Linked DNA regions of Homo sapiens: region 1 is linked to region 2. The links are contacts of gene promoters, found by promoter capture Hi-C in blood cells and fetal thymus (Javierre and others, 2016). All regions are on one chromosome and are shown on one strand. Each heading gives the region's core, a stretch centred on a gene start or on the middle of the fragment in contact. The rest is flanking DNA. Distances are from core to core; before and after follow the strand shown.

The links. Contacts are between HindIII fragments. The CHiCAGO score rates a contact against its expected background, and 5 or more counts as called.
Region 1: a contact is called between a fragment that was not itself captured here and the fragment with the promoter of VAC14 in region 2, in 1 of 17 cell types (erythroblasts). The highest score is 5.2, in erythroblasts.

Annotation. Positions count from the first base shown.
Region 1 is chr16:71,413,396-71,420,623 of GRCh38, reverse strand. LINC02136 (long intergenic non-protein coding RNA 2136) reads left to right here. Exons shown (of 3, transcript NR_146574.1): 2 at 5,629-5,759. Among named protein-coding and RNA genes, the nearest start is that of LINC02136, 9.5 kb to the left of the region's middle. The HindIII fragment of the contact is 4,748 bases long and covers 2,953-7,228 here.
Region 2 is chr16:70,798,737-70,805,328 of GRCh38, reverse strand. VAC14 (VAC14 component of PIKFYVE complex) reads left to right here and starts at 4,171. Exons shown (of 19, transcript NM_018052.5): 1 at 4,171-4,532. The coding sequence starts at 4,429. HYDIN (HYDIN axonemal central pair apparatus protein) reads left to right here. Exons shown (of 86, transcript NM_001270974.2): 86 at 1-3,245. RefSeq lists enhancers at 4,136-4,195, 3,863-4,485 and a silencer at 4,276-4,465. The HindIII fragment of the contact is 5,317 bases long and covers 3,321-6,592 here.

The DNA of each region.
Region 1 (7,228 bases), core at 4,077-6,576, 610 kb before region 2:
TCCTGTCATGACGCCACTTTCCCCGCGTATACATGGCATCCTTGCCCTTCTTGTCCTGTGCCACTTTGTGGGGTTGGTGCTTGCCACACTTCTTATAGAAAGTCTGGAAGGCTTTAGGAACGTGCACCACATTGTGGGAGCCCTATTGCATGGAAAGCTATTGTTAATTTCTAAGTCATTTATGCTTACAAAGCTGATAGGAGCTAAACTAAGATGCAGGTTATTCCGTAGGAGCAAATAGTTTGGGGAGTAGTCTACATAGTGGTCAAGAGTTTTTTAAAACTCCAAACCTTAGATTGTTGTCTACATATACCCTCTTGGGCAAAAGGTAGTTCTTACTTGGAGAAAACATAGATTGTATTATCTTGAGGGGGTCTAAAGGGAACCACAGAGGGGAGGAAGAGGAGACATGGGAAGTCTTTCTGGTTAGGGCAGTGGTCTCCCTGGTGGGGTGGACACCCTTGTCTTGGTGTGATCATTGAACTCATGGAAATGACAGGCGGCCTGTGACACCAACTTTTCAAAGGGGAAGGATTTCTTGCATGTATTGATGGGGCCTCAGCTCTATCTAATAGGAGGTACGTACTGCACTGGAGGCCTCAGATGGCCCTAGGAACTATTCTTGAGGCCTCTAATGTACACTGGGCTCCTCCAGCAAGAAAGACCCCCATGGGTTGACTGGTTGTTGGTGGTGGGAAGAAGACCTCACCTGGTGTGGGAATGGGGGTGGGGCCAAAACTCCAGTGGTTGAGGGTATCTTGCAGGAAGTCTCTGATGACTGTTGCTTCTCAGGGCTGTTTTGAGGAACACAGTTGATTGAAGACTCTCCCTTCCTCTGTATGTTTACCCTGAAATGTGTCTCAAGTTGGTAGCACCTACTTTCTCTGTGGCAAGAGCTCCTTTTTTTTTTTTTTTTTTTGATAGGGAGTTTTGCTCTTATGCCCCAGGCTGGAGTGCAATGGCGTGATCTCGGCTCACTGCAACCTCCGCCTCCTGAGTTCAAGCGATTCTCCTGCCTCAGCCTCCCAAGTAGCTGGGATTATAGGCATGTGCCACCACACCTGGCTAATTTTATGTTTTTAGTAGAGACAGGGTTTCTCCATGTTGGTCAGGCTGGTCTTGAACTCCCGACCTCAGGTGATCTGCCTGCCTTGGCCTCCCAAAGTGCTGGGATTACAGGCGTGAGCCACCGCACCGGGCTGGCAAGAGCTCTTTTAACATACTATGCCATGAAGGAGAGTTCATGGGTGTTCTTGTTCAGAATGCAACTCTGGATCGTATAAGGCCTTTCTTGTTTTTCTCATTTTTAATCCAGGTCTTGGAGTTTTGGTTATTTTCTTCTGGGGGAAAGATTTTGCCACTTCCCTTCCTGTTCTTTTCCTTGCTAAGCAAACTGGTTTTTGAGATTCCGTTTGCTAACAGCTTTCATTCAGGCTCTGTGGTTTTTAGATTGATGTTCCAGAAGAGGCTTGGTCCCATGAAGTAAGTCAATGTTACTTTTCACTATGGCAGTTGCTCTCCCAGCCCCTGTCTTGCGGATGCTCTTCCGAAGTGCATTTGGAAGGCTGCGTCTCGCTTCCATTTCTTTCTCTTCCAGAGTCACCTTGCTTAAGGGCTGTGATTTTCTGCTAATGCTCTGCATGAGTGGGCTGTGCAGATGCACGTTGATCTTTTCAGGAGAGTGTTGGCCTTATGCAGTGGATAGTCACCTTCTTTCAGCGGATTTACTGTTCTTCCAGATGTTGCTTGTCTGATACAACCTCCCTCTGTGTTGCCTGGAAGTAGTCTGTGCTTTTCCCCATCATGGTTAACGAAGACTCTGTCGAAGTCATCTGCCGTCTGACTTGTCCGAAACTGTGTCTCATCGCTCTACTGGCCTGCCGGCGCTTCTCATGGTGTAATGTGATCTTTTAGATGGGCGTTTTCTTGTGTCTTGCAAAAAAGGACATGGAGGACTCTCTGAGATTGCTCATGGCATTTGATGAAGTCATTAAAGGCAGCATGTTGGTTTCTCTGTTTCTCTTTTTCCTGTAGGAATTCTGAAGCCTCATGTGTTCTTCCCGAGCCAGACAGAAGTTAGATCCACGTGTCTCCTTTGCATTTAAATTCTTTAAAGCTCTTCTTACCTTAGAAAGTGTTATTAAATCTCACATATGGTTTTGTTATATTTCACATTGTCTCTGTTTTCTCTTGTTAACTGGCTCCAAATTAACAAGCAGTTTCCTCACTAGAATTTAATTTGATATGTTGAAGCCCAGACTCTTCCTTTGACTGATTTCTGTTTTGTACTCTGATGGCCTCAAAGAATGTCCCTGAACTTTTGATCTTTTTGTTCAGAGTCAAACAGTATATTTAGAATGTCTCCCATTCCTTCAGATACATTTTGAGGATTCAGTTGACAGTCTCTGGGGCAGGAAGGAAAACATCCCCCCAGCCTCTCAGCTGAAGCCCAGGCACTAGGCTGGGTCTGCAAAAGCTGGGGGTGAGGTCTTTGGGGAAGCCTCTTAGATTGGTGAGGAGGATATGGTCCCCCTCTGCCTCAGGTTTGGATGGCCTCTGTTCTGGGGGCTCCCTTCCAACAGAGAGGGCTGTTCCTTGGCCTGAGGGGCAGCAGCTGCAGGAGAGGAGTCTGAAGTGGGGGTCTCCTGTGTCCCTAGCCTTTTTCCGGGTGAGCTGCAGCCTCCAGAGGGAAGTGGCAAAGGCTGTGGTCCCTGCAGCACCCTACTACATATAGTAGCAACAAAGATGATTAAATACTTAGGGATAAACTTAATAAGAAATGTGCAAAATCTATAAAGGGAAAATTTTACAACACTTCTGGAAAACACTAAAGCACGTGGAGTGGGAAGACATCCCTTGTTTTTGGCTATCATAACTCAACATCAAGATGCCCTTTTCCCCCCAAGTTGACTTATAAATTGAATGCCATTCCTATAAAAATACCAATAAGCTTTGTTTCATGGAGTTGATAAGCTGATACTAAAGTTTCTATGGAAAATAAACATGCTGAAATAGCCAGGGAAAAACTGACCAAAATGGGGGCCTCACCCTATGGGCTGTTAAAACAAACTATAAAGCCTCTGTAATTAGAACAGTGTGGCATTGACCACATGAACAGACAGACAGACCAATGGAATAGAATAGAAAGTACAGAACAGACCTAAGTACGAATGGGAATTTAGTATATGATAAAGGTGGCATGTGAAATCTCAGAGGCAATGATAGACTATTTATTTATTTATTTATTTATTTTTTGAGATGGAGTCTTGCTCTGTCATCCAGACTGGAGTGCAGTGGCACGATCTCAGCTCACTGAAACCTCCACCTCCTGGGCTTAAGCGATTCTTGTGCCGCATCCTCCCAAGTAGCTGGGATTACAGGTGTGCACCACCATACCTGGCTAATTTTTGTATTATTTATTTATTTATTCTGGTAGAGATGGGGTTTCCCCATGTTGGCCAGGCTGGTCTGAAACTCCTGACCTCAAGTGATTCACTCATCTTGACCTTCCAAAGTGCTGGGATTACAGACATGAGCCACTGTGCTTGGCCCAGACTTTTTAATAAATGGTACTGGGATAATGGGGTAGTCTTTTTTTTTTTAAAAAAAGATAAAATTAGATCTATTGTTCACAGCATATATAAGAATAAACTCAAATGGATCATGAATTTAAGTGTAAAAAATGAAAACATGTAAGTACTAGGGGGAAAAAGTCCGTGGGTGAATTCCTCTTAACCTCAGTGTAAGGAAAGGATTTGAAAGCATCACTCAGAATCCAGAAGCAATGAAATAAAATTCTGGCAAATTGGACATGGCAAACCAAACCAAACCAAACCAGACAAAACAAAAAACCCAAACCACAGAAACCAAAGTAACTGAAAAATTGAGAGAAAATATTTGTAACACATACCACAGACAAAGGGCTAATCTCCCTTATATATACAGAACTCTTAAAAATTGAGGGACAGAGGATGAAATACTCCACAGAAAAAAGAGAAAAGACTTGGACAATTCACACACACATTAAAATGGTCCTCAAACATATGCCAGTTACTGGGACAGTGTTGTGGGGACAAAAATAAGTAGACACAGTTCCTTCCCCCAAGGAGTTTCCAGTTCACTGGGAAAGTCACAGAAACTAACTTGAATGGGGACAGAGTATGGTTAAATTTCAAGGGGTAGGCTGGGTGCGGTGGCTCATGCCTATAATCCAAGCACTTTGGAAGCTGAACCAGGAGGATCACTTGAGCCCAGGAGTTTGAGACCAGCCTGGGCAACATGATAAGACCGCATCTCTACAAAAAATTAAAAAACTAGCCAGGTGTGGTAGTGCGTGTCTCTAGTTCCAGCTACTTGTGGGGGGGTGAGGTGGGAGGATCACTTGACCCAGGGAGGTTGAGGCTGTAGTGAGCCATGATCGTGCCACTGCACTCCAGCCTGGATGACAGAGGGAGACCCTGTCTCAAAAAATAAATAAAAACGGGTGGGGTTGGATTTCACCTGAGCCTGCTGGAGGGCAGGGAGGAGCAGTTGGTGGGGTGGAATGTCAGGGAGTGAACAATCTAAGAGGCAGGTGAAAGTGGTTCTGAGCAGAGAGGACCATTGGGGGATGAGGCAGCTGTTGGAGAGGGATGGGTCAAGGGATGGAGGGTAGCACTGTGAGCTGAAATAGGTGAATTGGGAGGGATGCTGGCTAGAGAAGAGGTAAGTCCAGCACTTACTGTGCTTGGGGCTGTGAGAGGCACCTGAGGACAGATGCCTGTCCTCCAGGATCCCACAGTCCTGGGTGGAAACCAGCAGGGCCTTGATGAACTAGACTTCCGGAGAGAATGAACTCAGTACTGTAGTGGAGGGACCAAGGGCAAGCTGCCCAAGGCTCAGACTAGAGTTGGGGCTGGTTGGGTTTCAGGTGAAGACAGATGTCCATGTGGATCTAGCCCACTGGTCTCTGGACATGTGGTTATGTTGGTCAAAGGAGAAGACCAAGGCTCAGAACAAAGACTTGAGATTTGCCCCCTCAACTGTCAGAGAAGGAGTTATGGAGGGAGATCGTGGCCTGAGGGTCATGGAGTGGCCAGGGGAGAGTCTTGGTCAGTCACACATTGGAGGCCATGAGAAAGAGTAGTTAGGAGAGGGGTGCTTGAGCCAGTAATCAGATTCAAGTCCCTGTTATGCTCATGTGCCAGCTCTGCCCTTGAGTTTTCTCATCTTTCAATTGGGGAATGGGGCCGGGTGCGGTGGCTCACACCTATAATCCCAGCATTTTGGGAGGCCAAGGCGGGTGGATCATGAGGTCAGGAGTTTGAGACCAGCCTGGCCAATGTGGTGAAACCCCATCTCTACTAAAAATACAAAAATTAGCCAGGCATGGTGGCGGGCGCCTGTAATCCTTGGGAGGCTGAGGCAGGAGAATCGCTTGAAACCAGAAGGTGGGGAGGTTGCAGTGAGCCAAGATCATGCCACTGCACTCCAGCCTGGGTAACAAGAGCAAAACTCTGTCTCAAAAAATAAATAAATAAATAAAAATTTAGAGAATGAATCAAGGCATGACTGTAGGACCAAACGAGTTCACATATGCAAAGTGTTTTAATATGGTCAAAGCATTCAATAAATGCTGCTGTTAATTAGGAGGCAAGAAGAGATTGAAGGGAAATCTCAAGGGGCTCCAGAGACTACTACGATGGTGCAAAGTCACAGAAGCCCTGGGAAAAGCAGGTAGAATGGAGTTGCCATGACATTGAGCCTCACCTAGATGCCAGGTAGGTAACACGCATTATCACAGGTGAGTCTCACTGTAATCTCACAAGGGAATTTCTATGGTCATCCCCACCCCACAGTGTAACAAGCTCAAGGTCCCAAGAGTATGACCTACGTTTCCTGTTCTGGACCTTAAGTTTTATTTATTTATTAATTATTTTACTTTTTTTGAGATGAGGTCTTGCTCTGTCACACAGCCCAAAGTGCAGTGGCACGATCCTGACTTACTGCAACCTCCGCCTTCCAGGCTCAAGCAATCTTTCTACCTCAGCCCCCCAAGTATCTGTGAGTACAGGCATGTGCCACCACACTCGGATATATATATATATATATATATATATATATTTGTGTGTGTGGAGATAGGGTTTCACTAGGTTGCCCAGGCTGGTCTCAAACCCCTGGTCTCAAGTGATCCGCCTGCCTCGGCCTCCCAAACTGTTGGGATTCCAGGCGTGAGCCACCGTGCCCAGCCTGGACCTTAAGAATGAAATCATCCTTGGGTTAAAGGCTGGTCTCCCTTAGAGATGGTTGTTTGCAGGTCACCTTCCAGGGGCTAATACTCTGGCAAATGCTGGTGACCTTGAGATGAATGAGCCTTGATCCGTGTACTCAGTGAGCTCTCAGGATGAGGGTTCCTGTAGCCTCTCTCTTCATTGCATCATCTCCAAAACCTGACAGGACTGATGCTGGAAGGTCTTTCCAAGGCCCAGACTCCTCTCCTGGCTCAAACACTTTCCATGGCTCTCTGTGGCCTCCAGCCCAGGGTCTGAATTGGTTCTACCTGGCCAAGTGCTCTGCCTGCTTTTAGGGTCTGGTCTGTGCCGCGAGCCCCTGTCCCATCCCAGCTTTATCTCCCACAACTTCCCAGCCCTTACCTATGCCCTGGTCATGTGGATCCTTTCCTGTATATCTATACCCTTCATTCATCTTGGTCTTTTGGTCTGAAATGCAGCCCCCTCCTCCACTGGCCCCTGAAACCTAACCCACCCTCCTCCTGCACTGCCTGGACTGCAGGAAACCTTTCCAGGCTACGTATCCAAACTAGTCTTTTTCTCCCTCCTCTGTTTTGCTAGATTTAGAGATGGTTCTAGTACGTGACTCAAGGTAAGAGGTTGTGTTTGACTGATACCAAGTGCGTCTGTCCAGAGTTAGATATGAGGATAGAAGTTCCTTGAGCCAGGGATGGTATCTTAGCTATCCCTGGGATCCCCACAGGACACGTGCTAACAGGGAAATTCAAAGACCCCACCAAACTCCTGCCACCATTTCCTGCCCTCTTGTGCCCAGGCCCACCTCTGGGTTGGAGGAGCAGGGTGCTGTGGGAGAAGGTGCACTGGTCCTGGAGTCAGGGCCTTCAGGTTTGTGCCATCCCACTGAATACATGGCCAATGACCTTGGGCAAAGGGACTCCTGCCTCGGGGCTTTAATCTGTGCATCCACAGACTGTACATATGGCATTGGACCAGGACCT
Region 2 (6,592 bases), core at 2,922-5,421:
AGACTTGTTGAATCAGAATCTGCATTTTCATGGACCTCCAGGCGATTTGCATGCACATTGCAGCTGAGAGTGCTACTTTAAGGTACCTGGCAAAACTTGACATTTGCCAAACCCACAGCCATAACTCTTTCATTACAGTCCTGAGAAGTCTTACCAAATCTGCATAGGACCTAGTTGATGAAATTAACCCTCCCCAAAATGTGCCTCCTTCCACCTATTCACCAGAGGTATAGGTTAGGAGAAGGGAAGCAATTGGTCCCTCACCCTACTCTTCAAAAGGGTGTACTTTTTCAATAATGGTCAATGTGGTACACCAAGTGATCCCTAAGACTAAAGAAAAGGTGGAAGAAGCTGTCTGAAATCTTGTCTAACATGCCACCAGCCCCAGCATGGCTTATAGCCAGCCTTGGGGTGGCTAGGGGCAACTCCCCCAACTTCAGACCTGTTCCAGTGCTTCCCCAAGCCACTGAAGCTGTCCATATACATTTTATAAAAGTGATCAGGGAGAAGGGAGGGGGAGAAACAAAAACGAACCCAGGTTGCAGCACACTCAGCATTAATCACTAGATCAGCCTGCGCTCAGACCTGCTTCCTCATAGCTGTTTGGTGCCTGCTGTTTCAGAATCACGTAGACCCTGCTAAAGATCATAGTTCCCCTCAATGCTCTGGAGATAACAACTTGAACATTAGGAAACGTTAAGTTTTCCGTTTGAGATATTTATTCTTGGTCCTGTGTACCAGTGAAACAACTGACATCAGCTGATCTGAAGGACCTCACGAGAAGCTGATTCACCAAAGAATGCGGTTTCCACATCCTGATGATTTCATCCGTCTTACCCAACCAATCAGTCACCTGGTTTTTCAGCCCTTCACCCTCCAGGATCCCCTTAAAAACCCCAGTCCAGAACTCTTCCGGGAGATGGATTTGAGGGTCTCCTCCCATCTCATCACTCAGTGACCTTTGATCATCACTTTCTCTGCTGCATCCCCACTGTCTCTGTGCATTGGTCTGTTACTGCACAGTGGGCACACAAACGTGTTGGTCCTATAACACCACTGAGTCTAGGGTCCAAATCCTCCTAGCCCCTGAGAGAGGAGGAAGTTCCTTCTCCCTGGGACCAAGAGCCAAGCTCAGATCCTGCCCCAGTGTGAACCCTCTTCCAGGCTGGTTTGAGATTGGGTGCATTTCTTCCCTTTAGGTTTTTCTCGTGCTTCCTTAGCCTCAAACAATAACAAAATAGTCTTATATTAGCAAATTTGGAATGGCAAAGTAGCTTAACAGCAGGCTTGATGAAAATAACCCTTCCAACACATGCTTGTGGAAGTTACATTGGAGAATCCATTCTCAGCAAAGCAGACCAGGAGACTTCTAACTGGGGGATGTTCAGAAAATGTCAGGGTAGCTGTGTGGCAGAACTCCAAGGAGCACTGTGCACAGAATACCATGGGAATGGGGCTCCCTGGCCTCGTTCCACACTGGGCCCCCAGTGAGTGTGGCATGCTAAGTCTAACCACTTCTTTAGGAGCCTCAAGTCAGAGGTGACAATACTGTAACATTGGTGAGGGCCTGCTACATTTCAAGACCTCTACCTAATACCTTAAACCCTGTTGCCCTGAAACTCCAGCTACAATTACATTGCTGTTGGAGAAACTGCTTTGCACAGTTCAAGATTTTGGTACAATTTCTTACAATGTCATCAGCAGCCTCTTGCTACAAGTTATGTCATAACTTTTACATACTTGTAATAGCTATTATGAATAGTTGTTACAGAACTATTACAAGTTCTAGCATAACAACCAAGCATCACACAGATGCAGATGAATTGTAACTGTGAAATAATGACTAGTATGCAGTCAGGCACATCAGTTATCCCCTAGTCTAGAAGAGTTTCAACAGGAATGGTCACAGGTCAGAGAAGAGGAACAAGGGTGGAAGGCAAGGGTAGCCTTTGGGCTTTATTTTTACCACCACTGCTAGCTCAATTATGCATAAATAATCTTACCTAGTTGGCATTTTTCAAGATATTAGAGAAAAGAACCACTTCTTTCTAGGAACTTCTGACCTAAAGGTAGGCATTGGTCTGGGCCTTGAATAAAAAACTGGTTACTTAGCAACCTGAGCCAGAATATAATTTCAGGAGAAAAGAATACTTCTGGTAAAAAAAAAATTCCTTATTGTTTGAATTATTAAAAACTGTATCATTACCCTTGGGAAATTCAGTTCACCTCTAAGAAAAAGCCAAACCAAAAAGCAAAAGAAACATGAAATATATTAGATATGCGTCCCGTGGAAATGCACACACATTGGAGAAATAGAACCAAATCATTCCCATTGATTTACATTTTTTCAGTGTTTTTCATCAACCATCATCAAAATCCTAAAACCAAACTTTGCAAGACATTTGGAGATGTCCTTGGCAGCACTACTACTACTTGTTAGCGCACCTACCTTCATTCATAGGATTGTGTCAGCAAAGGTTTTAACAACTATGAAAACCCCACCTGTATAGGAGAATACATTTTTTATGGATTTTTCTAGACATGATATATCCATGACTTGCCGAGTTTTGGATTAGCCTTTGTATTCATTTTCTATGGCTGCATAACAAATTACCACAAAACTAGGAGAGCAAAACAACACAAATTTATTATCTCACAGTTTCCATGGGTTGAGAGCCCAGTGTGAACTGGATTCTCAGCTCAGGGTTCCACAAGGCTGAAATCAAGGTGCTGGCCAGCTGCATCCTCATCAGGAGGCTCAACTAGGGAAAGATCTGCTTCCAAGGACCCTCAATGTGTTGGCAAAATTCATTCCTTTGTGGCCATATGACTAAACTCCTTACAGGAGAGTCTCTCTTCCAGTTCAAATTTCTTCTAATCTCTTTTAAGTACTCACTTGATTCGGTCAGGCCGACTCAAGTTAATCTCTCTTTTTATTAATTCAATGTCTGCTGATTAGGGACCTTAATTACATCTGCAAAATCTCTTCTGCGATATTACATAATATAATCATGTGAGTGATGCATAGCCCATCATATTTACAAGTCTTGTTCACGCTGAAAGAGGGCATAATACAGGGCATGAACACGAAGGGGTGGGAATATTGGAGGTCATCCTAGAATTCTGCCTACTTTTGCCCTTTACTCATTGCGTCCCTGTTTCTGTTGAGGAAAATACTCCATTTTCAAGACTGTTATAAGGCCTATATATGCACTTTTCATTCATTAAAGAAAAGTATCACCATGCATTCTGAAACTGTTATTCTTTGAGCTCCACTGTAATCTAGCCCTTGTCCTAAGTCCCTGTTCACTCTGAAAGCTTATGATAGGAAAGGCTGATGCACCTCCCTGTTAACTGCATGTTTACCACACTCCGGCCATAAATTGCTTTTAAATATTTTGCCACATAGTTGGGATTTCTGTCTCACCATGTAATGTGATTCCCGAAGCAGCTGAAGGGGCTGCTTTCCAGGGGACCTATCTAGAGACCCGCACTCAGCAGATCTGGGGCCTTTCTCTCTGTCTGTAACCAGCCCTCCTAGGCATCAGAGCATGTTAAACACACCCCCAAATGGTGGAGTGACAGACACTGGTGGTACCTGAGATCTTAGGTGGTAGACAGGTAGTGCCATTTTTAATTGAGAATTTATTTTGATGTGTCTTAGAAAAAATATACCTATTCAAACTCATGGTTTTAGGGCATAAGCAAAGCTAAAAGAGATTTAAGGTATTTTTTAAAGTGAGTTGATTTGAGGAAAACATTAAATAGATAATACAAGTGGCTAGAATATGGTGAAAGTGATGACAGTGTTACTGCAGTTAGGGAAACGTCTGCATCTAGGAAATTGGTAAGTGACCAACTACTGAATGAACTAGTGAATTCGGTGACTATTGAATAAATTATGTTAAGTGAATCAGACTCCAAGAACCCATTCGGTCTTACGAACGTCTACAGAAGCCCACCACGTGCCATCAGTTGGGCGTGAGCTACACACCCATTAAAGCACGTCTCAAACCACACTCCAGCTACCTGGCGCGCAGCGCGATAGTGTGTGCAGTGTGGGTGGAGCCTTCCGAGGGCGTGGCCAATCCACCTGCGGCCTGCGGTGGGGGCGTGGCTGGAGAGGGGCGGGCCCTCGCGACGGAAGGCGGAAGTGCTGTAGAGTCATGTGACTCGAGTAACATGGCCGCTGTCTCGTGAGTCCCGCTAGTGCCGGGCGGGAGTTGTTAAGCGGCCAGGGTCAGGTGTGCTGGAGCGGGGTCCGGGCCCGGGTTCCAGGGCGAGGCGGCGGAGCGTGGCAGGCAAGCCTAGAGCGGCGTGGTCCATGCGCCGGCGCCGGGGGCAGAGCGGAGCCGCAGACTCCCCTGGCCCCGGCGCGGCCCCGGCAGCCGCGGGCTAAGGAGTCGCGAGGTTCCCCCAGCTGCCACCATGAACCCCGAGAAGGATTTCGCGCCGCTCACGCCTAACATCGTGCGCGCCCTCAATGACAAGCTGTACGAAAAGCGGAAGGTGGCAGCGCTGGAGATCGAGAAGTAAGAGCCGCCAGGACCCCTCCCTGGCTATGCAGCCCCTGACTGCTCTGCTCCCCAGGGGGACTTCTCACGCCTTCCCAGCCAGGGTTACTTTCCCAGGTTTTAGGCCCTTACCTTAGCGCAGTGTTTAAGAGCAGATTGGGAGCCATATCTGGGAGTCCCTGCTTTACTCCTGACTGGCTGTGTGATTTGGTCCCAGCTTTTTAACCTCCCGGTGCCACAAAGGGCTGCAGTGAGAATGAAGTGACATCATGTATGGGTAGTGCTTTGCACAGTGCATGGCACATGGTGAGTCTTCGGTGCGGTGCCACCCAAACCAGCAAATCAGAGAGTTGTCTCTGTGGTGAGAGAGAAGTCAGAAGCCGGAGAATTTGCAGGTGATGCTGACCAGCCTGGTTTCTTACCCAGCTTCTGAGAAGTGAAGGAGATTGTTAGTGACCAAGTAGAGAAATCAGGTCGGAAAACTCGTGATCTCAAGGCTCAGAGAGTTTTTTGTTTTATCTGTGTTATAACACCCTTCCCTGCAAGTGGAAGTAGAAATAATTTGACCTTTCTTGCTTCTGCAGTCTTGTTACATGTATGTGTAACAATGATCTGATATTTTACTTTATTTCCCAATGTACAAAACAGCGAAAGTTTAACTGGGGATGTTTTATTTATTTTTTTTTCTGCAGTATTATTTTACTTTTGTGGGTTTTTTCCCAGTCACATTTTAGTGTTAAAGTCAAGTGAGTGAGTGATTTCAGAAAATTGGAAAGAAGCAGGCTGTGAAACTGGAAGAATACCAGTCTGCGAGTCAGAAAAGGTGAATTGTATTTCTGTTCTGTCCAGTAGAGTAGCCGTTGGCCGTGCGTAGCTATTATAAATTTAAATTATTAAAGATTAAACTTTAGTTTCTCAGTCACACTACCCGTATTTCAAGTGTTCAATAGCCACATGTAGCTATTGGCTGCTATATAGGGCAGCACAGATTATAGACTGTTTCCATCATTGCAGAATGCTCTATTGGACTGCTCTAATCTATTCCGTGGTGTGACATTCATTCGTTAACCTGGGGCAAATTCCTTAACTCAGGGTTTCTCAGCCTCTGCACCATTCACATTTTGGGGCAGATGATTTTTGGTTGTAGTGGGCTGTCCTGTGCCTTGCAGGATTTTTAACAGCGTCTCTGACCTCTTCCCACTGGATGCCAGTAGCACTCCATCCGTTGTAACAATCAAAAATGTCTTCAGACATTGCTAAATGTCCCCTGAAGGAGCAAAATTGCCCCGGTTGACAACTGCTGCTTGCAATCCAAATCAAATGTTGCTTTGGATTTTAGTTTCCTCCTAAACTAAAGGGTTCGGACCTTGATAAGAAATCCCCCACCCTGCCTCCATTCAGCTCTCATACTCAGTATGTCCACAACCATCTAGCTGCTTCTCTCATCAGACACCACTTTCTTGACTGCTCCTTTTATATAGCTTTTTGTTTATGCCTGACTCTCACGAATGCTAGCAAGTCTTATTGCACATTGCCATACTGAATAGAGGGACCCAGAAATGATATATAGGCATGGTTCCGTGTCCATGGGGTTTTGTTGGCTTTGAAGTTGCCTTGACACCTAGTTTTGTCCCTCACCCACTCTGCTTCTCAGGAATATCCGGTTTTATTGTAGCTTGAGTCGTCTGTTGAGTCCTTGAAGAGAGAGGTATTCATCTCAACATTATTGTTGCTTCCAGCGCAACCTGTGTATCTGTTCTCACTCTGCACACAGTTCTGTAAGGGTTTTGTCTTTGATCGAGTTCATTTTGTATTGGACATTGCCCTTGATTTGTGGAATTTAGAGAAACTCAGCAGTGCCTTGACTGTGAACTCCTTAAGAGCAGAGAGTTCTGTTTATGTATCTGTTTTATTTATCCTTAGCACTTAGCCTGGCAGCACTTGACAGCTGGTGTCCGAATAAATGAATGACCGTACATTTTCGGTGGGGAAATAACATTGCAGGCTCAGGACCTTGCTGCCCAAAAGCGTGGCCTACAGACAGCAGCATCAGGATCACCTGGGAGCTTGTTAGAGGC